4 separate regions of the Homo sapiens genome follow, and all the other regions are linked to region 4. Evidence: promoter capture Hi-C in 16 types of primary human blood cells and fetal thymus (Javierre and others, 2016). All regions are on one chromosome and are shown on one strand. Each heading gives the region's core, a stretch centred on a gene start or on the middle of the fragment in contact. The rest is flanking DNA. Distances are from core to core; before and after follow the strand shown. Region 1 has its middle 57 kb from the start of WIPI2. Region 2 has its middle 31 kb from the start of RBAKDN. Region 3 has its middle 14 kb from the start of RBAKDN. Region 4 holds the start of RADIL (Rap associating with DIL domain).

Region 1 (2,700 bases), core at 52-2,551, 250 kb after region 4:
AAAAAATTTATAAGGCATCTCATAACTGCGGCAGCCTCTACAGTCTCTCCACCCTGCCCTTCCCACAACCTTGATCTTCCATTCTCTTCCTGTTTTCACCGATCCTGATTTCCGTTTGTATTTTGTTTTATCGGATACCCTTTTTTTTTTTTTTTTAAGACAGAGTCTCACTCTGTCACCCAGGCTGCAGTGCAATGGCACGATCTCAGCTCACTGCAACCTCTACCTCCTGGGTTCAAGTGATTCCCCTGCCTCAGCCTCCTGAGTAGCTGGGATTACAGGCTCGTGCCACCACACCTGTCTAATTTTGTATTTTTAGTAGAGACAGGGTTTCACCATGTTGGCCAGGCTGGTCTTGAACTCCTGACCTCAGGTGATCCGCCTACTTTGGCCTCCCACAGTGCTGGGATTACCAGCGTGAGCCACCACGCCCAGCCTTTATCAGTCATGTTCTTATGAGCATCCGAAATCCCTGCTAAAAAGGGCAGTAGAAAGAAATGCCACACTCACCTGGGCCATAGTTCTTCTTCTCTATTCTGGAAAAGCAGACACCTGTGAAGGCAGACATCAGGGTGGGGAGAGAGGATATGAGAGGCCACGCTTGCCCTTGGGCTCCCAATCAACTGCTGGGACCACCCCCGCCCTCTCCCAGGCGCAGGTGGGAGAAAACCTCCTCTGAAGGGTCCCCATTATCAAAGCAAAGCCCTCACCTTACAAATGTCATAGAGACTCAATCTTGTGAGGCCTTACTTGGATTTTTGTTTTGTTTTTTGAAATGGGGTTTCACTCTGTCGCCCAGGCTGGAACACAGTGATGCAATCACGACTCAATGCAGCCCTGGACTCCCAGGTTCCAGCGATCCTCCCACCCCAGCCTCCAGAGAAGCTGGGACTATAGGTGTGTCACATGCCCAGCTAATATATATATATATATATATATATTTTTTTTTTTTTTTTTTTGAGACAAGAGTCTTGCTCTTTCGCCCAGGCCGGACTGCAGTGACGCTATCTCGGCTCACTGCAAGCTCCGCCTCCCGGGTTCACGCCATTCTCCTGCCTCAGCCTCCCGAGTAGCTGGTACTACAAGCGTGCACCACCATGCTTGAATAATTTTTTGTATTTTTAGTAGAGACGGGGTTTCACCGTGTTAGCCAGGATGGTCTCGATCTCCTGACCTCGTGATCTGCCCTCCTCGGCCTCCCAAAGTGCTGGGATTACAAGCGTAAGTCACTGCGCCCAGCCATGCCCAGCTAATTTTTAAATTTTTTGGTAGAGACAGGGTCTCACTGTATTGCCCAGGCTGGTCTCAAACTCCTGGGTTCAAGCAATCTGCCTGCCTCAGCCTCCCAAAACCTTGGGATTACAGGGGTGAACCACCACGACTGACTGAAGTTTTTCTTAATGAGTATGTGCATCTGTGTCTCAGTAACCAATGTGCAATTTACTACAATCCCCACCCATTACCCAAAAATGTAATTACTAGAAATTTATTCTGAAGAAACAGGCCGGACACAGAGGCTCACGCCTGTAATCACCACACTTTGGGAGGCCGAGGCAGGTGCATCACCTGAGGTCAGGAGTTCAAGATCAGCTTGGCCAATATGGTGAAACCCCATCTCTACTAAAAATACAAATATCAGCCGGGTGTGGTGGCATGTGCCTGTAATCCCAGCTACTCAAGAGGCTGAGGCAGGAGAATCTCTTGAACTTGGGAGGCAGAGGTTGCAGGGAGCCAAGATTGCACCATACCACTGCACTCCAGCCTGGGCGACACAGCAAGACTCCATCCCCCTCAAAAAATTATAAGAAAACTTTTTTGAGGGGATAGGGTCTTGCTGTTGCCCAGACTGGAGTGCAGTGGCGTAATCTCGGCTTCCTGCGACCTGTGCCTCCTGGGTTCAAGTGATTCTCATGCCTCAGCCTCCCACATATCTGGGATTACAGGCACACACCAGCAAGCCTGGCTAATTTTTTGTATTTTTACTAGAGATGGGGTTTCACCATGTTGGCCAGGCTGGTCTCCAACTCCTGACCTCAGGTGATCCACCCACCTCAGCCTCCCAAAGTGCTGGGATTACAGGCGTAAGCCACCATGCCCGGCCTATTTTTATTTTTTGTAGAGGCCAGGCGCGGTGTTTCACCCCTGTAATCCCAGCTACTTGGGAGGCTGAGGCAGGAGAATCGCTTGAGCCTCTGAGGTGGAGGTGGCAGTGAGCTGTGATCGTACTACTGTTCTCCAGCCTGGGCAACAGAGTGAGACTCCGTCTAAAAAACCAAAACATATATATATGCTTTTTGTAGAGTCAGGGTCCCGCTATGTTGCTCAGGCTGGTCTCGAACTCCTGGCCTCAAGTGATCCTCCCGCCTTGGCCTCCCAAAGTGCTGGGATTACAAGCATGCATCACTGTGCCTGGCCTGTTTCTTGTTTGTATACATCAACTACAAACTACAGCACATGTAATAAGTTTGTAAACATACATCTATAAACAAAAAATTCTGGGCCAGGCACAGTGGCTCAAGCCTGTAATCCCAGCACTTTGGGAGGCGGAGGCGGGTGGATCACTTGAGGTCAGGAGTTCGAGACCAGCCTGACCAACATGGTGAAACCCCATCTCTACTAAAAATACAAAATTAGCCGGGCATGGTGGCGGGCGCCAGTAATCCCAGCTACTTGGGAGGCCGAGGCAGGAGAATCACTTGA
Region 2 (2,700 bases), core at 16-2,515, 220 kb after region 4:
GGCTCACTGCAACCTCCACCTCCCAGGTTCAAGTGATTCTCCTGCCTCAGCCTCCCGAGTAGCTCGGATTACAGGCACGTGCCACCACGCCTAGCTAATACTGTATTTTTAGTAAAGACAGGGTTTTACCACATTGGTGAGGCTGGTCTCAAGCTACTGACCTCAGGTGATCTGCCCACTTCGGCCTCCTAAAGTGCTGGGATTACAGGTGTCAGCCACCAGACCCGGCTGAATTTTTTTTTTTTTTTTTTTTTTTTTTTAGACAGAGTCTCCCACTGTCGCCCGGACTGGAGTGCAGGGGCGCGATCTCGGCTCACTGCAACCTCCACCTCCTGGATTCAAGCGATTCTCCTCCCTCAGGCTCCCGAGTAGGTGGGATTACAGGCACTTACTACCATGCCCAGCTAATTGTTTGTATTTTTAGTAGAGAGAGGGTTTTACCACATTGGCCAGGCTGGTCTCGAACTCCTAACCTTGTGATTCACCTACCTCAGCCTCCCAAAGTGCTGGGATTATGGGTGTGAGCCACTGCACCTAGCCCAACTTTTTTTTTTTTAGACGAAGTCTTGCTGTGTCACCCAGGCTGGAGTATAGTGGTGTGATCCTGCCTCACTGCAGTTGCGAACTCCTGGGCTCAAGTGATCCTTCTGCTTCAGCATCCTAAGTAGCTGAGACCACAGGTGCACACCATCATGTCTGGTTAATTGTTTAATTTTTTTCCCCGCAGGAACAGGGTCTTGCTTTGTTGCCTAGGCTGGTCTCAAAACCCTGGCCTCAAGGTTTACTACATGCATACAATGTGTATTGATCAAATCAGGGTAATTAGGATATCCATCACCTCAACTATTTGTCATTTCTTTGTGTTGGAAACATTTTAAATATTTTCTTCTAGCGATTTTGAAATATACAATAAATTATTGCTAACTATAGTCACCCAACTGTGCTATGAAACACAAGAACTTATTCCTTCTATCTAACTGTATTTGTGTACTTATTAACCAATTTCTCATCACTCCCTCCTTCATTCTGTTTCCCACTGGAGTGCAGTAGTATGATCATGGCTCACTGTAGCCTCTCTTTCTCCTCTAACTAAATGATTTCAAATGACTTATCTTCATCTTCATGTTCATTGATTTTTTGTTTTGTTTTGTTTTGAGACAGGATCTCACTTTGTCACCCAGGGTAGAGTGCAGTGGTGTAATCATGGGTCACTGCAGCCTTGACTTCCTGGGTTCACGTGATCTTCCCACCTCAGCCTCCTGGGTAGCTGGGACTACAGGTGTACACCACCATACCCTGATAATTTAAAAAAAAATTTTTTTTTTAAATAGGGTTTTGCCGTGTTGCTTATGCTGGTCTTGAACTCCTAGCCTCAAGCAATCTGCCTGCTTCAGCTTCCCAAAGTTCTAAGATTACAAGCATAAGCCACTGCTGTTGAAGCTCTAAATGGCATTTTTTCATTTTAGTCCTTGTTCACCTCAGCTCTAGAATTTCTTTTTTTGTGATTTCTGTATCTCTGTTGAACTTTACATTTTGTTCATATATTGTTTATCTGATTTTGACGAGTTGTATCTGTGTTCTCTTGTAACATGCTGAGCTTCTTTAAAACAGTTATTTTGAATTCTTTTTCAGTTAATTCATAGATCTCCTTTTCTTTGGGGTTGGTCATTTGAAATGTGTTGTGTTCCTTTGGTGATGTCATGTTTCTTTTCTATGCAGTTATTCTTGGCTTTTCTGCTCTACTCGGTGGCTGCATCTTTTTAACTGGACTCTGGGAGTTCTCCCAGAGCTATTTTAGTCTGTGGATAGTTGTTAAATCATTGTTTTTGTGGGAGTACAAGGGCTAGGACCTCCTAGTCCACCATCTTGATCACATTACACCAAGAATCAGTCCACTCTGAGATCATCCGTCTTCTGGCCACCCTTTGGTTTACATTTTAAGAAAATGTGGACAGAGCTGTAACTTTCCTCTCCTCTCTCCAGAGAGCTGCCTACCTCTCTGGAGATAGGTATTTTGGCTATTCATTTCCTAGGTTCAAGTTTATCCCAAGACTTGTACAGTCTCTTCATCACTGCAGGGAGGTGGCCTCTTATCCCCTTAGCCCAGAAGTTTCAGATTCCCCCAGGATTCGGCAGTTTTGAATTCCCAACTCTTCCACTCCCTCTCATCCCTCCAGCCCTCATCCTTCAGAGACCATCCTGTCACTTAGGCACCACAGTGTTGGGGGAGAAGATCAGTAATGAGGCCCTGGGGCTTTGGATCAAGCCAGACCCTTAAGTGGGCCCTGGGAAACCTATTAAGTAACTATTTTCTTATTAAGAGTATAAGTATTCCCTTCTTACTGGGAATAGAAGTTGAAAGATTGACAGAGATAAGGGAGAAAGGTGTGGTAGAGTCCGTCTCCTCCCATTTCCTACAAAATCCTTCTACAGTTGACTCCGCTCTTACTTTTGTTTACAGAGGAGCTGACGTTTCATCTGGGCCTGAAGAATGAGTAAATTTCCAGGTGGGAAAAGGTCATTGTGATATTGGAGAGGTATGTATAAGAATGGGGAAAATGGTCCAGTATGGTGGCTCATGCCTGTAATCCCAGCACTTTGGGAGGCCAAGTTAGGTGGATCACCTGCGGTCAGGAGTTCAAAACCAGCCTGACCAACATGGTGAAACCCCATGTTTCTAAACTAAAAATACAAAATTAC
Region 3 (2,700 bases), core at 168-2,667, 200 kb after region 4:
GCAATTCTCCTGCCTCAGCATCCTGAGTAGCTGGGACTACAGGCGCCCGCCACCATGCCCGGCTAATTTTTGTATTTTTAGTAGAGATGGAGTTTCACCATGTTGGCCAAGATGGTCTCCATCTCCTGACTTCGTGATCTGACTGCCTGGGGCTCCCAAAGTGCTAGGATGACAGGGGTGAGCTAACCCGACGTCTTTAAAAAAAAAAAAAAAAGTGTAAATGAAGAGTGGTAAGACATGAGACCCCCTCTACACTGGGCTGGGTGGTCGCTCGCCCCAGTCTGCAGAGGGAAAGAAAAGGTCTGAACTTGGAGGTGTGAAAATGGAACCTCTCTAGAAAGCTGCACCCTGGCCAGCGACACCACAGCTGTGTCTCCTGGAGCTGGGAGCATCCCCACTCACACCTCAGGGAGGGAGTGGAGTATTCCCAGGTGCAGATATGGCCCGGTGCAGATACGAACCCAACCAAGTTAAAGCCCTCTTGAGGGTCCTGCCGCTGTCCCCATGACAAGTGCGAGGCAGCCCTGCCCCCTGGTGGCAGCACTCAGAACTGCATCAGCAGGTGGGCTGCCCTAGGACCGGGGGACATCGCAGGCAACATAAATGCCCTTGTGGGTTACAATCTAATAAGGAAGATGTTCAATCATCTTATTAAAATAATCGGCCGGGCGCGGTGGCTCACGCCTGTAATCCCAGCACTTTGGGCGGCCCAGGCGGGCAGATCACGAGGTCAGGAGATCGAGACCATCCTGGCTAACACGGTGAAACCCTGTCTCTACTAAAAATACAAAAATTAGCCGGGCGTGTGGCGGGCACCTGTAGTCCCAGCTACTCCGGAGGTTGAGGCAGGAGAATCGCTTGAACCCGGGAGGCAGAGCTTGCAGTGAGCCGAGATTGCGCCACTGCACTGCAGCCTGGGCGACAGAGTGAGACTCCGTCTCAAAAAAAGAAAAAAAAATTTAGCCTGGCGTGCTGGCCTATAATCCCAGCAACTTGGGAGGCAGAGGAAGGAGAATTGCTTGAACCCGGGAGGCGGAGGTTGCAGTGAGCCGAGATTGCACCACTGCACTCCAGCCTGGGCAACAGAGGCAGACTCTGTCTCAAAAAGAAAAAAAAAATTACTGCTGTGAAGGGAACAAGGGGCTGAAGTAATTACAGGGGGGCCAGGGACAAGGTGGCATTTATGAGAGGTTGGGGATGAGATTTTGAAGATGGTCTCTGGGTTCCAGGCCGAGCTCACTCTGGTGCTCCTCTGGGCGGTGGAGCGGGGCTCTTCGCTGGGCTGCTTATTCCAGGCTCTGAGCTCTGGGCGGTGGGCTCAGGCTCTCCCAGGGATGTCGGTGTCTGTGCGGTTGCCACTGCCCAGTGGCCTGGGTTCTGCTTCTCCTCTGGACTCAGGTTCTCTCTGGGGCTGACAAGATCCAGGTGGGCAGAGAATGAGGTGAAGGCTTGAAGACCAAATCATGGGAGATGCCGGGAATGGGTGGTGCTGTCCACTCTGACCGCAATTTCCCATCAATATCCAGACCTGTGCCTGCAACATCAAGACCTGTGCCTGTTCCTAAAGAGTGCGGGTACCTGAAGCCCCCCACAAGGGCTCCCCCTCTACAAGACCTGCCCCCAGGATCTTAGGGCCTGGGAAAAGCAGGAGCTAAGATGAGGGTTTTGGGGGAGAGGAGGGGACCCCTTCATTGACTCCATGGACCAGCCTCAAAACAGAGATGGAGGCAGAGATGTTCAGAGATAGTACCAGTGTCAAGGAAACTCCTGTGTCGCCCCTAGGTCAGGCTGCCCTGGAGAGAAGTCCAGAGCCCCTGGAGGGGATAGACTGAGCTAGAGAGATAAGGGGGTGGCTGGTGCTCCCCTACTTCATCAGATAGGACTGTGAAGCCTGGGAGCAGGCTGGGAGTCCGAGGATATGGGAGAACATTCACAGCTGAGAAGTAAAGGAGAGGGTGGGCGCGGCAGCTCATGCCTGTAATCCCAGCACTTTGGGAGGCCGAGGTGGGCAGATGACTTGAGCTCAGAGGTTCAAGGCCAGCCTGGGCAACATGGCGAAACCCCGTCTCTACCAAAAATTACAAAAACTAGCTGGGCATGGTGGTACGTGCCTGTAGTCCTAGCTATTTGGGAGGCTGAGGTGGGAGGATCGCTTGAGCCCAGGAAGCAGAGGTTGCAGTGAGCTGAGATCACACTACTGCATTCCAGCCTGGGTGACCGAGCGAGACCCTGTCTTAAAAAGAAGAAGTAAAAGACTGATTCATCCCCTCCTGGACACATAGCCCCTCTAGAGCTGTCTTTGACAGTCTCGGCTGCCATAACAAAGTCCCATAGACTGGCTGCCTTATCAACAATAGATATCTATTTCTCACAACTCTGGAGACTGAAGATCTGAGATCAGGGTACATGGTCAGCTTCTGGTGAGGGTCCTCTTCTGGGTTCCAGATCACAGACTTCTAGTTGTGTCTTCATGTGGTGGAAAAAGAGGGAGCTCTCTGGGGTCCCATTGATTGATCGATTGATTGATGGAGATGGAGTTTCACTCTTGTCACCCAGGCTGGAGTGCAGTGGCATGATCTCGGCTCACTGCAGCCTCCACCTCCCCGGTTCAAGCCATTCTCCTGCCTCAGCCTCCCAAGTAGCTGGGATTACAGGCATCTGCCACCATGCCCAGCTAATTTTTTGTATTTTTAGTAGAGA
Region 4 (2,700 bases), core at 95-2,594:
CTCTGTGACACAAATACTTGGGGAAAGCGCAGGGCTCGGACAGCGAGGGTGTGGGGCGCTGGCTGGTGCTGCTCTTAGAGAATGTTTTCTCTTGTTCTCAAGGAAGGGTCCAGTTTCTGATGAAAAACAAGCTCAAGTCCCAGCGGCGAGTACAGGGAGTGAGGTCAGTGCTGCGCTGACGACATGGGTGGAGCGACCTCTCTGCTCCAACAGGACAATGTGGAACCCATTATCATTTCCAGCAGGAGGGAAAACGAAGCGCAGACTTTACACACTCAGCTCTCTCCCCTCCTTCCATGAATCCTATCTTTACAGCCCCAGCCCGAGCCACGCTTTCAAATGCAAACATAATTCAATCAGATTTAATTCTGACCTGCTAGCTGCTGGAGAGGAGACCGACTTGCCCCCCAGCAAAAGGGACTTTCAAGACTGGTTCCTGTCTGGAATGCACAAGAGGTGGCCTATATTAACCGCGGGACACGAGCAATCAGATTCTTCTGTGCAATTCAGATTAGCCAAACACTTGACAGGCGACAGGGCAGGGCAGGATGGTCCGCAGCCCCGCCAGGGCCCTGCCAACCCCACCAACAGGCTCCTCCTGCGAGGCCCCAGGAGCTCGGCTCAGCATCTGTTATCTTGGATGCAGTATTTGTCGAGGGGCTGGAAATGGTACATAAATAGCCGGGAAACAATGCTTTGAGCTGGCGCACGAGTGGGGATCGGGCTGCAACCGGGACGGGGTATGTGCAGGGGACGTCTCGCCGGCCCAGGTGGGAGAGCGCGCGGAACCCTGCGCCCCGCTCCCCCGCTGCGCCCCGCTCCCCCGCTGCGCGCCCCGGACGAAGCTCCCCCTCCAGGGCACAGCCGGGAAAACTGAGGGCCGAGAGTCCCCTGGAGTTGGGGGTCCGGGGCCCACGCGGACAGCCAGGCTCAGGAGCTCTCGGGGGTCGGCAGCGCGGACCCCCGGATCCCCGCAGGCTGGGCCGCCCTTGCCCGCGCTAGCCGGCCTCCGGGTACCGCCCCCCGGTCCAGGCCGGGGCCCGACAGCCAGTCGGTTCCCATGGCAACTGGGCAAACCTGCCCTCCGCGCCCCGACCAGCGGCCGGGAGTGTCCCCGAGCGCGCCCCGCGGCCTCCGCGCCCCAGGTCCCCGGCAGCGGCCGAGCAGCGCCCCTTACGAGCCACCCCCGGTTCCGCAGTCACTCCTCGCGCACCCCACACTCACCTCCGGCACAACCCGCCGCGCCGCCACGTTCCCGCGCTGCTCCCACCCGCCGTTGGCTGGGGCCGGCGCCCAGACCCGCGCGTGCCGCGGCGCCTCCTGCCGGCGGCGCAACGGGCGGGGCGGGGCCTCAAGGGGACGGGGCCACAAAGGGTGGGGCGGGGGAGAACAGGTGGGCTGGAGCTGGGCCTCGGCGCCCAATAGGCAGAAAGAAAGCCTCGAGGAGGCGGGGTCTCCAGGAGAGGGGCGGGGCCAACCTGCTAGAAAAGGCGGGCTGTGCTCTGGCGCCTCCTGCCGGCCGCCCAATGGACGGGGATGCAGCCTCGAGGGGGCGGGGCCTCACCGGAGAGGCGGGGTTTTGAAGAAAGGGGTGGGGCTGGTTGTGGAGAGGCGGGACTTGCAGCCCACCCACAGACTGCAGCTTAAGGAGGGGGGGTCCCCGGAGGAAGGGTGGGACCAGTTCTAAGTCCCTGAGCTGCTTGTGGGCTCTGGGCTCCTGCGGTTGGGTGGGCTATTTCGAGACAGCACCTTCTAGTAGCCCAGTGAGTGGGTGTAGGGGAGGGTAGAGCTGTGCCCCCAATTAATAAACATCTTCTAAGACATCGAAAAGGAACAAGGGAGGAATTTCCTCTCCCCTACCATCTGTCTCCCACCCAGAGTTTTAAAAGACAAATCAGGTCATGGCATTCCTGCTTACAATTATGCAAAAAAATGACCAGGTCAGCTCTGGGGCTCTGGCCCCAACTGCTCTCCCTGGGGACTTGTTTAAAAAGCAGCTCGTGACCTCGGCACTTTGGCTGGGGTTTTCCCTTTGAGGAATGTGGGCTAGACCTGGGAGATTCAGGTGGTTCGGAATATCAATATGCAGAATGTGGGCCTCGGGAGTGAACCTTTTTGTGGACAGCTATCGTGGTATGATTTCCGTAGTCATGACCCCATATTCGCGATGGAGGTCGGAGCAGACATTGATGAGTGTGGGAACAGACATTTATTGACCACCTGTGTGCCAGGCCCTAGGCAACTTTACCTAGGTCACCTCACTTAATGCTCACATCAATTCTTGTGAGACAGAGATGTCTGAGACATTCCAGGCCTCCCCTTTCCTCCACCTATCACCTGCTAATCCTAAAGTCCACCTCCTAAACCTTTTCTAATAAAAAATAGTGCCTCAAAGTCAACACAGAGAGACAGATTTGAGCCAGGCTCCTGTCTCCTTATTGATCAACTCACAATACGGACAAAAAAAGCTTTTGTCTCAAAAACTTAATGCAGTAAGATTGGCTTTTTTTTTTTTTTTTTTTTTTTTTTTTTTTGGAGACAGAGTCTTATTCTATTGCCCTAGCTGGAGTGCAGTGGTGTGATCTCAGCTCACTGCAACCACCACCTCCCAGGTTCAAGCGATTCTCCTGCCTCAGCCTCCCGAGTAGCTAAGGTTAACAGGCACCTACCACCACGCCCACCTAATTTTTGTATTTTTAG

Evidence for each region. Contacts are between HindIII fragments. The CHiCAGO score rates a contact against its expected background, and 5 or more counts as called.
Region 1: a contact is called between a fragment that was not itself captured here and the fragment with the promoter of RADIL in region 4, in 1 of 17 cell types (M2 macrophages). The highest score is 5.5, in M2 macrophages.
Region 2: a fragment that was not itself captured here is called in contact with the fragment with the promoter of RADIL in region 4 in 2 of 17 cell types (M2 macrophages and endothelial precursors); the score reaches 6.2 in M2 macrophages.
Region 3: a fragment that was not itself captured here is called in contact with the fragment with the promoter of RADIL in region 4 in 7 of 17 cell types (megakaryocytes, erythroblasts, endothelial precursors and 4 more); the score reaches 18.5 in megakaryocytes.

The regions. Positions count from the first base shown.
Region 1 is chr7:5,131,938-5,134,637 of GRCh38, forward strand. It overlaps the pseudogene ZNF890P. Among named protein-coding and RNA genes, the nearest start is that of WIPI2, 57 kb to the right of the region's middle. The HindIII fragment of the contact is 6,666 bases long and covers 1-2,700 here.
Region 2 is chr7:5,101,352-5,104,051 of GRCh38, forward strand. No RefSeq gene overlaps it. Among named protein-coding and RNA genes, the nearest start is that of RBAKDN, 31 kb to the left of the region's middle. The HindIII fragment of the contact is 4,338 bases long and covers 1-2,700 here.
Region 3 is chr7:5,085,087-5,087,786 of GRCh38, forward strand. No RefSeq gene overlaps it. Among named protein-coding and RNA genes, the nearest start is that of RBAKDN, 14 kb to the left of the region's middle. The HindIII fragment of the contact is 5,458 bases long and covers 1-2,700 here.
Region 4 is chr7:4,882,372-4,885,071 of GRCh38, forward strand. RADIL (Rap associating with DIL domain) reads right to left here and starts at 1,345. Exons shown (of 15, transcript NM_018059.5): 1 at 1,225-1,345. RefSeq lists enhancers at 47-341, 71-759, 760-1,447 and a silencer at 1,157-1,376. The HindIII fragment of the contact is 2,924 bases long and covers 1-2,466 here.